Regions from separate parts of the Homo sapiens genome. Here region 1 is linked to region 2. Evidence: promoter capture Hi-C in 16 types of primary human blood cells and fetal thymus (Javierre and others, 2016). All regions are on one chromosome and are shown on one strand. The core of a region is centred on a gene start or on the middle of the fragment in contact, and the rest is flanking DNA. Distances in the headings are between cores, read along the strand shown. Region 1 overlaps TMSB15B-AS1 (TMSB15B antisense RNA 1). Region 2 holds the start of FAM199X (family with sequence similarity 199, X-linked).

Region 1 (4,253 bases), core at 1,679-4,178, 260 kb after region 2:
CACTGCAAGCTCCGCTTCCCGGGTTCACGCCATTCTCCTGCCTCAGCCTCCCGAGTAGCTGGGACTACAGGCGCCCGCCACCGCGCCCGGCTAATTTTTTGTATTTTTAGTAGAGACGGGGTTTCACCTTGTTAGCCAGGATGGTCTCGATCTCCTGACCTCATGATCCACCCGCCTCGGCCTCCCAAAGTGCTGGGATTACAGGCGTGAGCCACCGCGCCCAGCCGAGGACAGAGCTCTTGTTGTGCCAGTGAACACTTGGCAATCCCTGGAGAGGCTGCTTTGGCTATGAAACCAATGACACTGAAGGGAGTGGTAGGGTTTAATGTGAACAGTCCCTCCGAACTTCCTAATAAAGTCCATTTATGCAAACGAAGGATTGAAATTGCTGAGCTCTGATTGGCCTGCACAACTGAGCTCTGATTGGCCAATGCCACTGAGCCCTGATTGGTTGATAGAGCCTAGCTCTGACTGTCTGGTTCTGGTGTACTCTGGCAAAGCCTCAATGTTGAAAAATATTTGTCCAGGTATATTACATGGGCTCAGGGAGAAAAAGGCATATTTAAGCCTCTGTATTCAAACACTAATCTGTAAGCTTTGGGAAAAGTATAAGAACAAGCCAGACATGAATTATGAAGCCAGGGGATGTGCTTTGAGATCCTACTACCATAGGGAAATTCTTGCAAAGGCTGAAGGACAGAGGCTTGTATATCAGTGCAAGGATATGCCCTCAAACAGATTGGTCATAGATAATGACAAACGCCAGACTTGTAATGAAGGTTTAGCAGCAGCTTCTGATGCAAGTCATTAAAACCAGTGTCACCGTCTGCAGAGAGTGTCCTAAAAGCAGCAACTTCTGTCCGTGGTGGAAATAACTCATATCCTATAAACTTCTCCAGAGCAGAGAAGGGTGTATCTGGAGTTGTGAATATCATTTCCCCTGGTCACCATGTTTCCTCCAGGTCTCCTACTACTACCAAATCTGTATCAGCAACAGCAGCAGCTCCAAGGACAGTATGTGTGGCAATGCAAGTACCTGCTGTCATGACATCAGAAAATTTCAACTATGGCGGTTGAGTCAGTTAATGTAGGTGCACCATTAATAACTACCACTAGTCCGACAGCAGCAGCCTCACCAAAGGTTCATTCAGGCAAACCCTACTGGGATGCCAGCTTCTACTGAAAACGGAGACAAAATCACCATTCAGCCTGCCAAACTCATTACCATCCCTGCTACACATCCAAGTCTGCACAGTGTAAGTAGCAGACGAAGTCAAGTCTGACTAAATCATTAACATCGTTGGAAACCCCCGGCTGTGAGAGCACTTACCACTGTTTCAATAGTGCATGGTACACCTTTAATGGGACTATCACTGCCTACTCAACAGGCATCTGGCCAGACTCTTCTTGAAGTTGTCAGTGCAGTCATAAAAGGTTGAATCAGAATCCATGGAAAACCAGTAGAAAGATGATGTGGAGACTGCAACTGGTAGAAGAGAAACCAGCAGATGAAATAAGACAGTGACCCAAGTAGCGGTTGTCAGTGAGACTTCTGCTATTGCCTTTCGAGTAACTAACTATAAGAACAGAAATACTATTGACATGTGAGAAATAAAATGACAGGCCCACCATAGATTTCAGACTGTGAGTGGTAGTACTGACATAAACACTTGCAAGGGAAGTCATCAAGAAAAGTCAAAGAAGACTTTAAAACATTTTAATGCATATAAGAAAACAATGAAACTTACCGGAAATAAGTTATCTATCCCATGTGTCAATGAGAAATGAACTACATGCATTGAGATGCTGACAGAAACCTCCCTCTTACAGTAGGAAAACAACTGAACCCTTCAATAAGAAAAAGGATTGAAAGGGACCAGGCAGCACACTACTATCTCAAGTTATGCTAAGATTTGAAACACTGACATTCTGCAAGAGGTTATACAGTTTTCAGTGGGGAGGGGTTGGGATAGGTGATCTCATTGTTACACATAGCAACTTTTAATGCATTTTATATGCATATTAGCAAGTATTACTGTGTTCTCACACTACTCACTTAACTTGTGCTATGTGAAGGCTCTGCTAATACAGGTGTTTTTTAAAAAACTCTACAAAGACTTTATTTTTTAATGATGAAATTCTAATGATCTTATCACTAGATTCAAAATTAAAATGGGCTTATGGATATTGTTTTCTTAATTCGGTGGTGATTGGGACTTTCAAAGATGCTTTATCTAGGTTTCCTGTTAGGAAATCTAGAAAGAGTCATGATTTTAATCCCCCTATTAATTTTCTCAGTAATTAGTTGTCAAAAATGAAAATATTCATGAATGATGAGTACACAGAATACAGAAAACCTAGTGAAAAGCCTGAAAGAGAAAATAAATGAACAGCAGAGTCCTGTGGGAGTTCTATGCCGGTGCTACATTATCTGATTTTCCTCATAATTCACCAAGAAGAACCAGCGGAACTTCACCACCAAGGGGCTGCAGTTGGTGATGGTAACCTAGCGAATGACCTCAGTATTGTTCAGGATGCAGCCAAAATCCAGCTCCATCATCTCAAAGCTGAGGTTGGGGTAATGCACTCATCCATGCAGGTCCAGGCTGTCTACTGAGGGTGTTCCACATACTTAATTGCTAGAATTTCTTCTGCCACCCAGTTGTTCAGATCGTTTCTGTAGGAGGGTTCAAACTTGATCAGCAGGGTTTTTTTTTTCTTCATCAATTTCTAGTTTTATAGGCCACAAAGATAATGGGGGAAATTACCAACTTTTGTACTATGCATTTTCACCCAGTACAAGTATTTTAGAATGTGAATTGAAGAATGGATCCAAAAGCTTCAGAAAGTGGAAAGCACAAAAGAGAAAGAAAGAAAGAAAGAAGGAGAAAAGATCCACTGCAAATAAAAAAAATATGTATCATATGGCTTAAGTTGATTTAAAACAAAGGCCTTAAACTAATTTTTAGGGTTTTTTTTTCTTGAAATGAGCTAATGGCTTGTTTGTGTAAAGCTTTTCCATTAAAACAAAAAAATTTTTAAAATCTTGTACATAACACAGTATTGTTGTAGAATTCATATGAAACATTTTATATGGTAAAGTCAACTAGCTCCCTAATTGTGGACAAATTAACAGTTGGTTCCTGTTCTTTTGCTATAACATACTTGTGCCACCCATGTAGCCCTGGCATCTGTGCAGACACATCAGTTTCAGTTCCACTGTCACTTGGAAGATCAGGTTCAGCATCAGTTTTTGTCAGGTAGCTCTAATACCTGGAGTTTTCTTTCTTTTCTTTTTTACTTAGTTGAAGTTTAAGAGGAAAAGTACCAGTTTTCAGATTTGAACTATCATAGTTTGTATATTCAACAAACTATTTGAAGTATATTGTGTTTTGGTTTGCTCTTGTTTCAAAGTGTATCCAAGTAGGATTCCTGAAATATAGAAAAGAAACTTGTAAATAAATGAATGGCTGGTAAGTATCCAAAATTAGGGAGATAAATGATTCACTAAACTTAGGAAGCACACCTGGACACATCATAGTAAAGCTACAGCATAATGATAAACAAATATCATAATAGCATAAAATAGATACATTGCCTATAAACGAGTACAAAATAGACAGCAGGTATCTATACATCAACAAATGGAGGCCAAAAAGGAAAAAATAGCTGTCATGCTAGAGTTGCATTCCTAGCCAAACATCATTTAAGAAGTAAGCTGTGACAGACATGCAGGTAGATCGCCCCAAACCCCCTTCAAGGACAGATTTTCTGCTTCAGCTGCTGGGACAGCAGTTGGATGCCAGTCATCAGCCATCAGTTCCTTCAGGTATGACCCGAGCTGCAGGAGCTGCCTTGCCCAAGGTCACGCACTTGCAGAGACTGACCACATCCAAGGACTGATCCAAGAGGAGGCACAAACATCTGGCTTGCTCTGCCCAAGGTGGAATGATTCTGATGGGCCATTTTTACCTTCAGAGCTCCCCTTGGGATCCGAAGAGGCTTTGGTTGGGCCTGCAGTATGGATGCACTTCTCTCTGTGCCCACTCCTGCTTCCCTCCCTTCCATTCCTCAGGGGTTAATTCTAAGTAAATGTCATGCACACTAAAATCCATCTCAGAGTCTGTTTCCTGTGGATCCCAATCTGAAAAGACATTTCTAACTAGTAAAGTAGCAGTATTTACACCAGTGAACTTCACCTTCAAAGAACGCAGGAAGAACATACTTTAGGCGGATGGAAAGTGATCACAAAA
Region 2 (4,034 bases), core at 711-3,210:
TGAGTTGGTCTAGGAAACCATAAGTTCTATTTGTAACACTGGATCAATTAGTTCTGCTCCAAGTTTAATCATTGGCTTCAAAGGAATAGTCTTGGATTTGCTTGACTAGGTTTTATGACCTTGAACTCAATCTTTTCTTTCTGGGCCTGTTTCTTCATTTTTTGCAATGACGATTTAGAGTAGTCATAATAAATTTACTGCCACTTCCTTTTGAGATGTGTTATACTGATATTCTGATTATTTAACTATAACACCTTGTTTCCATAGACTATAACTTTCATTTATGTAAGAAACATCTTTTACACATTCCTTGTATCTGGTAGAAGCTCATTCAATCTACAGACTGATTTAAGGGAAGGGAGGGGAGAAATATGCTAAAGACATTAAAATATGGAAGAATTTGATCAAACTCACATCATAAACTTGGATCAGAAGTCAGAACTAGATTTCTTAATTTATCTCCAGTATTTTCCATAGCTGAACCCCTCTCCTAGAGCCTTAACCACACACCCCCCCAGCCCTTTGTATATGTATCTCAAATATCCACCTATGTTAAAACTTGAGGCTGTATCTAGAACGTCTTCAACCCACCCCCCAAGATTTGATCTAACACGTAAATGCTTGCATGAGAGAAGTCTCCAGAACACTACCTTCTACTGAAATCAGTTAGGAGGAGATACACCCTCTGAATAAATTTGTGTAAGTCAGTCCATCCTAAGCCTTACTCTGTCTCTTCAAAGGGGAAGGAAACCAAGGGATATGTCATATGAAGGAATCCTCCAGATTTAAGCTTACCAATTTTGGCAGAGCCTAAAGCGCTAAGGCAAACAGTTAATAAAGGAGGAGGAAAAAAAGAGAGAATCGACTAGTTTCCTAGCGCTCAACTAAAAAAAAAAATGGGGTAGGGGTGGTGGCGGCGGGGGGAACAGGACTGTGAGACAGATTAAAAATAGGGAAAATGAAGCTTCTAGCTTTAAATGTTCCACCTTTCAACGCCACTTTTCAAAAGATCTATGGATTGATCTTGAGCCATCCAAATTCCTCTACAGCGTACCGGAAATGGAAGGGGTTAAACTTTTGCAGATGGATGCAAACAGGGGCGTATCTAAAAATCAAGGGTGGGGGTTTGGGATTCGTAGGGTACAGATGGGGGGAGGGAAGGGAAGCAAGGGAGGGAGAAGGTAGGGAAGGGAGGAGTCGCTATAGCCAGAATATGAATGAGGAAAAGAGAGTAAAACGCCGGTCGAAAGGAAAATAGGAGGGCAGGGGTGAAAATAGGGAGGGGGGGCAGGGAAGGAGGCCGGGAATGAGCGCTGGTCGAAAGCAGGTGGGGGAGGGGGCGACTGGAAGCGCAGCCCGGGACGAAGGATCAGGAGCGGGGGGCGACCAGAAGTGGAAAATCCACCCCTGCCCTCAGGTGCAGTTCGTACCTGTTGGTGTGGAAGCGGTGGAGCGGGTCGGTGCGATGGCAGGAGGACAGCTGGCAGCCGAAGTCGCTGATGTCCAGGCAGCCCGGCTCCTCGCTCGGGCAGGTGCCCACCCCGCGAGGAGGTCCCAGGAGTGGGAAGGGCTCCTCGGGGGTTAGAAACTTCTCGTAGGAAGTGATGGCCGAGGCCTCGTCGGACATGGTTGGAGATGGCCTGGCTCGGGCTCCCTCTCTGGCCCTGGGCTGCTCCCGCGCCCGCCCCTGCCCCCACTCTAACCTGTCCGCAGTCGCCGACGCTCCGGGGTGTGCCCGTCGCAGCTCACTGGCAGGCTGGGCGTCGCGGCCCGCTGCTGCTTGCCGGGGTGCGGGGCCGCGCGAAGAGGCTGCTCGAGGCCACAGCGGCCCACCGGCCACCCAGTTAGCGCCCCGGTGGCCTCTGCAGCTTCCGCCGCCGCCAGACTCAGCCCGTCAGCGCAGCGCCGCCGCCCGGCCCGGCCAGGCCCGCCCCGCCCACTGCGCTCGCCGCTTGCGACTGCAGCAGTCTGCCCGGCGCCCGCAAGGAGGGGAAGGGCGGCGGGAAGCCACTCCCCGTGCCCCCTGCTGGACCGGAGGAGGAACTGAACCTCCGCCCGCCGCGGCCCCAAGCGGCCCGCCCCGCCCTCTACGCATCGAATCAGGGATTCAGGCCGCTAGAAAGGCTAGGCGCCTCTGGCCAACCTCCTCCTCCGCTTTCTCACTCGTACTCGACTACTAAGCAGGAACCGCAGTCCCAGAAAAGGGACTTGGCCAAGGTCACACTGCGGGTGCGTGAGAAAACATCCAGATGCCCTGGTTCCCAGCGCACTCTTTCATTCTGTCCCAATTCAACAAGTATTTATTGAGCTCCTGCAGTGTGTGCCCAGCACCGTGCAATGAGGTGTAGGAGAAATCGTCCAAGCAGGGAAAATAGTCCCTTCCTCACCCTTGATCACCTAACTCCAAGAACCCTACGCTGCAGCCACTCGCCTACTCAGAGCTGCTGGACACGTCGTACTCTTTTGTGCTTTGCGCCTTTTGCTCATAGGCACCCTGCTTGGAATGCCCTGCCATTTCTCCCCTGCTAATCCTTCAAACTCCAGCTCAAACGTTATCTCCTCAGTGAAGCCTTCCCTGACTCCCAAAGGAGACTAAGGCACACCTGCTAATTTGCCCCCTCCCTCCCGTAGAAAATATATTATGGAGCTTAACTTGTTCAACTTGAATCAACTTGTTAGGTGTTATATAGTGTACTTTGCTGTTTATCTCATCTCTCTTCTCTATATTCTGGGCAAGTGATTCCTGTTCTTGGATGCGTAAGATTAAAAAAAAATAGAGGAAACCCCAAGATTACTAATTTCTTACTTTGCCCAAAGAAGACAATTTTTAAAACTACCTAATATTATTTTATAAAAGGAAGCACATTTTCATATAAGAGCATAATTCTTCAATAAAAGCAATTCTTTGCATTAACTATATTTATGAAGAAACTACATTGATCCTTCAGGAAAGCATAGAACTTAAATAGGCGGAAAGGAGGGGAAAAATGAAAGAAGGCAGGAGGAAGAAGAGAAAGAGGGCAGGAGAAGTGGGGGGTTGTCACTAAAACAAGCCCCATTCAGTATTAAACTCTGTGCCTTGCCCTACCAATGCAACTTATAGTGAAAACAGCTTCTCCAACGTGCCTTTAAAATGTATACATTATCTTGCTTCAGTTACTTGGTTGTTTGACTGTTGAGCATGCCGGCTTTCTTTCATTGAGATTGCAAGAAGGTGTGTTGCATTGTGTATGTGGCTTTCAAAATGAATCATTCATTAATATCTAATGAGGCTGACCAATTTAAAACTTGTGGAAGTGAGGCTGATGATGGTTTGTTCTATGGTCCCTAATGCACCAATCCCCAGGGGTCTGAGGCCAGTGAGGCTGAATGGGCCATGGCTTAGTCCCCAAAAACAAGAGACTTGATTATCCAAATGAAACAAGAGTCAAGTGCTGCATGATAATGCAGGCACTCAGGTAATAGCACCAGGAACTGTTAATAAGAAGCTAACGAAATAGTCTATTTTATTTTATTTTATTTTATATTTTTTTGAGACAGAGTCTTGCTCTGTCGCTCAGGCTAGAGTGTATTGGGGCGATCTTGGCTAACTGCAACCCCCACCTCCCGGGTTCAAGCTATTCTCCTGCCTCAGCCTCCTGAGTAGCTGGGATTACAGGCATGTGCCACGACACCTGGCTATTTTTTGTATTTTTAGTAGAGACGGGTTTTGCCATGTTTGCCAGGCTGGTTTCGAACTCCTGACCTCAAGTGATTGACCCAACTCAGTCTCCTAAAGTGCTGGGATTACAGGTGGAGCTACTGTGCCTGGTGGTCTAATTTAAATATATATACCTTTTACACATACTATAAGAGGTGGGTGTTTTTTTAAAGCGGAGTCTAATGAGAGAGTCTGTGAGGTTTCTACAAGTATGTGTTTTACTTTTGTGTTTAAGCATATTCTGAAGTATCTGTATGACCACATGATAACTAACTGCTGCCACATGATTAGGACATGTATTTGAGTTTATTTTCACAATGAATTAGCATAAGAT

The links. Contacts are between HindIII fragments. The CHiCAGO score rates a contact against its expected background, and 5 or more counts as called.
Region 1: a fragment that was not itself captured here is called in contact with the fragment with the promoter of FAM199X in region 2 in 1 of 17 cell types (total B cells); the score reaches 7.0 in total B cells.

What each region holds. Positions count from the first base shown.
Region 1 is chrX:103,907,625-103,911,877 of GRCh38, reverse strand. The region is part of intron 4 of TMSB15B-AS1 (TMSB15B antisense RNA 1); the gene reads left to right. It also overlaps the pseudogene ELF2P1. Among named protein-coding and RNA genes, the nearest start is that of TMSB15B-AS1, 9.8 kb to the left of the region's middle. The HindIII fragment of the contact is 174 bases long and covers 2,842-3,015 here.
Region 2 is chrX:104,164,379-104,168,412 of GRCh38, reverse strand. It overlaps FAM199X (family with sequence similarity 199, X-linked), which reads right to left and starts at 1,960. Exons shown (of 6, transcript NM_207318.4): 1 at 1,431-1,960. The coding sequence starts at 1,627. RefSeq lists an enhancer at 1,618-2,118 and a silencer at 1,683-2,172. The HindIII fragment of the contact is 4,401 bases long and covers 967-4,034 here.